Linked DNA regions of Homo sapiens: region 1 is linked to region 2. The links are contacts of gene promoters, found by promoter capture Hi-C in blood cells and fetal thymus (Javierre and others, 2016). All regions are on one chromosome and are shown on one strand. The core of a region is centred on a gene start or on the middle of the fragment in contact, and the rest is flanking DNA. Distances in the headings are between cores, read along the strand shown.

Region 1 (3,718 bases), core at 53-2,552, 940 kb before region 2:
TAATAAATGCATTCATTAGTTAATGGCTTTAAGGGTTAGCTATTATATATATGGAATGAGGAAACCTCATTAGGAATGGCCACAGTCTCAGCAAAACTCAGCTCTAAATATGCAAAGACTTTGAAGTCCTGCTATTAACAAGATGACATGAATTGTAAGAATACATTTGACAGGCTCTAGTAAGACCCAGCAGATCGTCCATGACCTGTGCAAAGGCACCCCACAGTGGCAGATGGAACTGGCAAGAACTTGGTAGGAAACGTGTCACACATCCCCACAATAAAATGATACTTCAGAAAGACAGACAGGGGTGTCCTTCCCATGATAGTGGCAAAGAAGGGATCCTGGGTCGGGGAAGTCGATGGGAAGGAAAGAAATGGAAGGTGGGTAGAAGAGTAAAATAGGGGTTGTTGCATCCCAGATGCTGCCCAAGCTCCAAACTACCAAGCATTCTGCACTTCCAGAGTTACCTGGTGTGAGGTGAGGAGAGGGATGGGATGGAGGCAGCTTGCTGGACAGGGGGTGACTGCAGGCTGGGGAGGGGCTGGGAAGGGGTTGGGGACAGCTGAGGACTCAAATGACACAGAGGACAGACCACATACAAGACTCAACAAGGGGAGATCTGGCAACGTGCAGGCTAAAATGACCAAATCCATAGCAAACTCAGAAGGTTCACGTTCCCGAAAGGGTGTCACTGCCAAATCTCCACCTCATTTTGACACTTAACCTACAGAGTATGAGTCGCAGTAGAGTTCAACTGCTCTCATTGCAGCACGTCAGGGCAAGATATCCTTTTTAAGGTATAGTATTATATCTAGCTATATGGATCTATAGAGATATTTACAACTGGCCTCGCTGCCCTTCCTCTGTGCTGTGAAGCCTTCATGTGCATTGCTTCCAGACAAATCTTAAAACCCTCCTTTTCTTCACACTGCTCCAATCTCCCTTTATGACTTTATCCCAAATGAACTGCTTGCCACCACAGGGTTGAAAGCACCTCCAGGGTGCTGGAGACCCAAATCCACGTCAACCAACCAATGCTTAGGCTCCAGGAAGCCAGCCTTTCAATAGCCACATTGGGAGCTTCAGACATGGAGTCACTGCTCTCCCCTCCACCTGAATCTCTGTATGGGGTATCCAAAAATAAAGAGGCAATTTTAGCTCTTCCAGTGGTAACTTTCTTGTTTTCAACTGTCGTACAAGATTTGTGTGTGTGTATGTGTATGTGACTGTACAAGTGTCTATTCTCAATGCCTCTTTCAGCCTCACTCCCCAGCCTGTTACCCCGAAACATGTTCCTCTAGGACAAAGTGAAATGCTCTGTACTTGCAGCTTCTTCCATGGATTAACCACTTCCTACCTCAAGGCACTAGCTCACCACTTCTTAGGACTACATTCACTTCCCCAGTCTTCTATCTAGGAGACAGCACAGATGGATGGAGGGACAGGGCAAACAGTGGAAGGGAACTGGGAGATGCTGCTCCCTGGAACAGGAAGTTGGAAAGAAACAGTCAGTTAAGCAGCCCGGCCAAATAGGGCCCCTCCACCATATGGGAGCAGGCCAAGGGAATTATAGTGGTTCTAGAAGGGTCACCAACAGGGAATACATATGCTTTCAGGGGTATTTCCTTTCACACCCATTCAAATCAGATAAACATAGATATGCAGACATGCCCTTATATACATGCACTCAGCATAGACCCATGTGTACACAAGCATACACATACATAAGCCACACTTTCACAGGGATGTGCACACACACGCATGCATCCACATGCTGTAGATACAATTCTGTACACACCAATGTAGATTTACACCACTAGACACGGCACTATGCAGCTTCTCAAATGGTTGTATATGTACATACACCCACCCTGCTGCATATGCATACACCCAGGTATATACAGAAACACAAACACAGAAGCACAGTTAAAGGGTGAGTGGGTAGAGGGGTAAGGGACTGAGGGAGAGACTGCATAGGGAGGAAGAGGTGGCATATGTTGAGTGCTCGGCAAAGTTCACTCCCTCACAACCTCCATCAGTGAGGTGGAGCTGCTTGGCAAGTTGGAATGCTGGCCAATCCTACTTCCGTTAGGGGCCCTGCTCAGTGGGCAGAGTGTGTTCTCCATCTGCTCACGTCACGCTCATTGGCTGGTCACCAGCCTATTCCTGCAGAGATGCCCCAGGTGCTAGAGGATGTGGTGGGGGCCCTCTGGAGCACCCTCTTTAGGGAGGGAAGAAAAGGAAATGCCTCAGTTGGGACAGTCAGGAGGAAAAAGACAAGAAAGAGCAAGTGGGGTGGATCTACCACTCACTGGCTGCATGTCCTCAAGCATGCGGCATAAGCTCCATTCGTTTTCCTTGGAACACTGGGGACAATGTGCTTTGCCTTCCCTGGCTTACAGGGCTCCTGTGAGGCTCCAGTGATGTAATGGGTCAGGGAGCTTGTTGACACTTACTATGCACTAGACAAATAGAAAGGATTAGTATATAGACTTACGATAGATATTCATCTGCTAGTCTAGATCAGATGGTAAAATAGCAAGTGTGAATTATCCTAACCTTAGTGCTTATTCACCAAGTGCTGTAACTGGTGATCAACTCAGCAACTGACGGAAAGCTAACTCCTGACTTAGACAGATGTATTGAGTCTCTATTGCCAAGCGTTCTGAAGCAGAAATATAGGCAAGTTCCAATCCCTCCGAAGAGGCCAGCTCAACTGTGTAATTTCCAACCTGACATCACCCCCCACCCTCTGCCAACCCCACAAGCTGAGTATGTGCTCTCTCACCCTGATGTCTCACTCTGCAGCCCCATCCACCCACATTCCCCTTCCACGCTTGCATCAAAACACCACAGTCAAATGCCATACAGTGGGGGAAAGGCACTTACAAATGCTCCCTAAGTTTCCTATAGGAAGTTCCCTGAACTTCTAAGCCATGGCTAGCCCTTTAGCTATGAACCCCAGCCCAACCCAGCTTGACTTTCTTCTATAAAGCCCTAAGCAGAGGGTGAACAAGACCCATAATCCCTAGGAGGAAACAAAAAAAGAAGAAAACATGTAATGAAAAAGAAATGTTGACACCTCAAGGGGGACAGAAAAGCCCCCCAGAAATGTTTGTGGGCAAAAGGCCCAGATCCTTGCCCCATCCCCCAACCTGGCTCTTCTCTGTCCTCTAAACATTTCCAGGGGCTTTTCTATGCTTATTCCTTGTTACAAGTCTTTGAAAAGGTGAGAGTCTTCTAGCAGGAAAGGAAATCCATGTGCTGTATACCTCCAACTCCTCCTCAATCCCTTCCCTTCCAGCTAGAACATGTTCTTTCCAATTACTCCCCACCTCATGTTTATAAAGAGAAGTATGAACTTATTGGATTGCCCAAATAACCACAAAATAAAAGGAACAAAGGAAAGAGGGAAAAACAAACCCAAAAGAAACTGAAAGGAGCACAGCACAGTGCTCCCGCTGTTCTGGAGCACTGGGGGACTAATACATATGGTATACCCAGTAAACAATGTTGAACAACCCAAAGGCCAGAGGGAAGAGGAACCGGGACCACTTGTCGACCTTTGGGACGTAGTCAGGATTAAAGAGATCGAAGGAGAACCCTTCAGTGAAGGAGCACCCAGGGCTTGGGGGGCAACTATCCTCAGACTCTGAGCTACTGTCCTTCTCTTGGCCATGGGCCATGAGCTCATCATCATTAAGGCCCCAGGTAC
Region 2 (4,151 bases), core at 1,158-3,657:
TTAATTCTGTAGAATAGTCAGGTTTCCCTCCCCCTCCAAAATGACTGTGTTTTCCCAATATCATTTGCAACATTATAGCCACTATTTGTTCTAGAACATTCCTTCACCCATATTGAATGTAGCTTAAAAGGATTGCCTACAAAATAGTCAGATTCACTTGCCTGGATTTCTTTCTTCTTTCTCTTTCTTTCTTTCTTTCTCTCTTTCTTTCTTTCTTTCTTTCTTCCTTTCTTCCTTCCTTTCTTTCTTTCCTTTTCCTTTCTTTTCCCCTTCCTTCCTTCCTTCCTTCCTTCCTTCCTTCCTTCCTTCCTTCCTTCCTTCCTTCCTTCCTCTCTCTCTCTTTCTTTCTTTCTTTCTTGACAGAGTCTCACTCTGTTGCCCAGGCTGGAGTGCAGTGGCATGATCTCAGCTCACTGCAACCTCTGCCTGCTAGGTTCAAGCAATTCTCATGCCTCAGCCTCCTGAGTAGCTGGGATTACAGGCATGTGCCACCATGCCCAGCTAATTTTTGTATTTTTAGTAGAGACGGGGTTTTACCATGCTGGCCAGACTGTTCTCGAACTCCTGGCCTCAAGTGATCCGTCCGCCTCCTCCTCTCAGAGTGCTGAGATTACAGGCATGAGCCACCATGCCAGTCCACTTGACTGGATTTCTTAACAGCCAGAAAGCATAGGAGCCTCACCTGACTTATTGTGTGTATACACGCGCACACACACACACACACGTACCACACACATAATTTTAAATACAGGAAAGCGTTATTTCACACAATAGATTTATAGAGTAAAGTATTTATGTACTCCCCATGCAATATTTGTTTCAGGCATTCTGAATTCCCAAGGTTGAACCCCCAGCATAGGAAAGGATGACCCTGACCTTTAATTGGAACTTCCTGTCCTCATTTGCCAGCTTGGAGCACAGGAGCTTCCTCCTCCTCACAAGTCAACGTCTAGCCCTGCCTGACCTGGTCAGGCTAGAGCCCCTACAACCAGTACTCCCAACCCCAACCTGGCCACCAAGTGCTGAGGACCCCATACAGTACCATTTTCTTGGGTCGGGTGGCAGTCATATTCCAAACTCGTTTGGCTGAAGCAGAGCCAGCAGCTTTTTGTTCCAACTTCTGCTTCTTCTGGGAGGCACCCCGGGACCGAGATCCAAGCTCCATCATTTCTAGAGAGAAGAACAGAAGCTCCAGGAGCACCCATAGAAGTTGCACCAGGGTTTCTTGGGCACAAAACACACCAAAAAGAAGACAGAGTCTCCAGCTTTCTTGGGAATCACTCAGCACCCATTAACCACTGTCCATCAGCTGATCCCAGGTCTCAGTTTGTTCATCTGTTCAAAAGTTAAACCGGAATTTCCTGAGGGCTGAGCTCGAGACTAGGTTACTCTCCAGTAACCTAGAGACCAATGACCAAGAACAAGATTCCAGCTATCAAGGAACTGACCATCTGTTTGTGTATAAGGGGGAATGACAGGTGTAAAACAGAAAGCAATCTATCCTTGCAAATGCAGACAGAGAGATGCAGGCTCCATAAATGATCAAAACAGGGTAACATAGTGGAAGGAAAGGGCTCCTCCTAGAAAAGTAGGAGACAGCAATTGAGGTGGGGACCTGAAGGAAAAAAAGGACCCAGCCCTGGGAAATTGAGGGAAAGAGCATTCCAGGCAGAGGAAACAGCAAATGCAAGGTCTTTGGGGGAAGAAGCAGGCTTGGAGCATCGTAAGAACAAACATAAATGCAATGTGATCTGGATCCCTTTGTGTGCTATAGAAATGGTATTTTCTGTCTATATCATAGCATGAAACGTTTTGAGGAGGCTGATACAATCTTATAGATCATGGAATTTGGATTTTCCTCCAAATGGCAGGAAAATGAATTGGAGGATTGGGAGAGAGAATTGATCTCTGGTCTCATAATTTGAGCCCTCTGAGTATTTTGCAACAGAGACTGTGGTGGCTTGGATAAGGGGGAGACAGAGGTACTACACATGTTGTTCCCATCCTCCTCCCTCCCAGGGAAAAATGCTCACATCATCTATCCCTTTTCCCCTAGCTCCCTTACATCAACCCACAAATCCTCGAAGCCCGGCCAACACACAGATGTGCAAACACTTCCGTGCACACATGCACCTTTTCCAACACACACATGCACAGGTATAGACACGTATCTACACAGTTGGCTGTAGCCTAGGGGTATTTTAGGGGATCCTCACCTGCTATCACCAGGTGCTCTTGGTTTTCCCCTTGGCGTCCATGATTCAGTTCTTCTGCCAGGGACATTTCCATCTCCGCCTTGGTGTTGGGAGGGCCTCCTGCCATCACAACCAGCTGTTCTCTTGTAAGCTATGGCTAAGGATGCACAGGGTGCCAGGAACAGAGGAGTCACACTCAGAAAATCACCTCTTCCGGAAACAGGAGCTCAAGGAAGATATAGTCAGATCTGGGGGTGGAGTGAGACTCCCTCTCTAGGCTGAGGCCTTGGACACAGTACTTTCTGTTTCTATTGTATCTTGCTGGCTAGGTCAGTGGCCTTCTCCTCTGCTACTCTGTAAGCAACTTAGGAGAAGAGATACAATTCCGTGCCTTTGCCTGTGAGAACTGCTCTGGCTCATGAATCTCCATATTTAGCCCATGGGGAGAAGGGTGGGGTCCACCCTCCATCATTTCTATGAAGAAACAGGGATTGGCACAGGGTCCGAGAGCCAACAGTGGCCACAACAGAGTTAGGTGCTAGCAATCCAGGCCATACCACACCTTCAGAAGGGATTCTCTGGAGAGCGTATCCTACCTCCCCCATCCAGAGTCCCCAGACACGGGAGGTAGCCTTTTCCTGAAGTAGGTCAGCCTAGGCAGGAGCCATAACAAAGGGAGAGAAGGGCAAGAGAGGTGGGACCTGACTGCAGCCACTAGAACCCCCAGGGGCCTCAGGCCCTGCACCTTCTAAGTCCCAGTTCTCCCTCAGCTTCCCTACTGATTAGACCACTGTGATGGTCAGGTTTATGTGTCACCTGGCCAGGTTCTAGTCCCCAGTGACTCCATCAAACCCTAGTCTAGGTGTTGCTGTGGAGGCATTTTGTAGCTGTGGTTGGCATCTACAACCAGTGGACTTGAAATAAAGTAGAGACCCATCCTCGATGATGTGAGTGGGCCTCACACAATCAGCTGAGAGGCCTGAAGAGCAAAGACTGAGGTTTCCCAAAGTAGAGGTAATTCTACCCCAGGACTGCAATGTCAACTCTTCCTTGAGTTGCCAGCCTGCAGGGCTGCCTTGCACATTTCAGACTTGTCAGCCCCACAATCGCATAAGCCAATTTCTTAAAATAAATTTCTATATACTTGTGCATATGCAGATATATACATACATACATGCATACATACATACATACATACATACATACATACATACATATATACATCCTATCAGTTCTGTTTCTCTGGAAAACCCTGATTGCTACAACTACCTGTGGTGAACCCTTCATTCTAGGAAACAACCCCAGAGCCCCTGGGGGAATAGGAGGCTATTTGTAAAAGGAATCAGGACAGGTTTATATAAGGTTCCTTTTACAAATAGCCTCTTCTTCCCCCAGAGCCCCTGGGCCAGGTGGGAGGAAGAGGAGGAAGGAAGGAGGAAAAGAAGAAGGAAGGGAGGAAGGAAGGAAGGAAGGAAGGAAGGAAGGAAGGAAGGAAGGAAGGAAGGGAGAGAAAGTGGAAACGAAGGGGCCAGGAGTAGCTGAGATAGGGCGGCATGGTCTGAGGCTGCCTGCCCCCTGCCCCCACCTCACCTGTCCAGCTTGGGAACCAGAGCTGATATAGGCCCTGCCTGCATTCCTGGGGGCCCCAAAGAAGCCCTTCCCAGATCCAGTGGAGCAGCTGTGATGAAATTCGAGCTTTCTGGAGGGCCACCTTGGGAGCAGAGAAACTGCTGAGTGTGCTCAGCTCAGTGGGATTCAGGAGCCTGGGAAGCCCAGCCAGATTGAGCAAATGAAAATATAGGTACGAAGTACATTTAAATTTCAGATAAACAACAGTATAAGTATTCTCTCGTACACTAACTTTTGGGACATATTTACACTAAAGAATGATTCATGGATTGATTTGACATTGAAATTTAGCTGCATATCCTGTATTCCATCTGACAATCTTATCTC

The links. Contacts are between HindIII fragments. The CHiCAGO score rates a contact against its expected background, and 5 or more counts as called.
Region 1: a fragment that was not itself captured here is called in contact with the fragment with the promoter of FATE1 in region 2 in 2 of 17 cell types (M2 macrophages and endothelial precursors); the score reaches 5.9 in M2 macrophages.

The regions. Positions count from the first base shown.
Region 1 is chrX:152,653,049-152,656,766 of GRCh38, reverse strand. It overlaps GABRQ (gamma-aminobutyric acid type A receptor subunit theta), which reads right to left. Exons shown (of 9, transcript NM_018558.4): 9 at 1-3,718. The coding sequence ends at 3,486. The region is part of intron 2 of MAGEA3-DT (MAGEA3 divergent transcript); the gene reads left to right. Among named protein-coding and RNA genes, the nearest start is that of GABRQ, 17 kb to the right of the region's middle. The HindIII fragment of the contact is 8,561 bases long and covers 1-3,718 here.
Region 2 is chrX:151,714,291-151,718,441 of GRCh38, reverse strand. FATE1 (fetal and adult testis expressed 1) reads right to left here and starts at 2,407. Exons shown (of 5, transcript NM_033085.3): 1 at 2,217-2,407; 2 at 1,043-1,170. The coding sequence starts at 2,322. The HindIII fragment of the contact is 6,237 bases long and covers 1-4,151 here.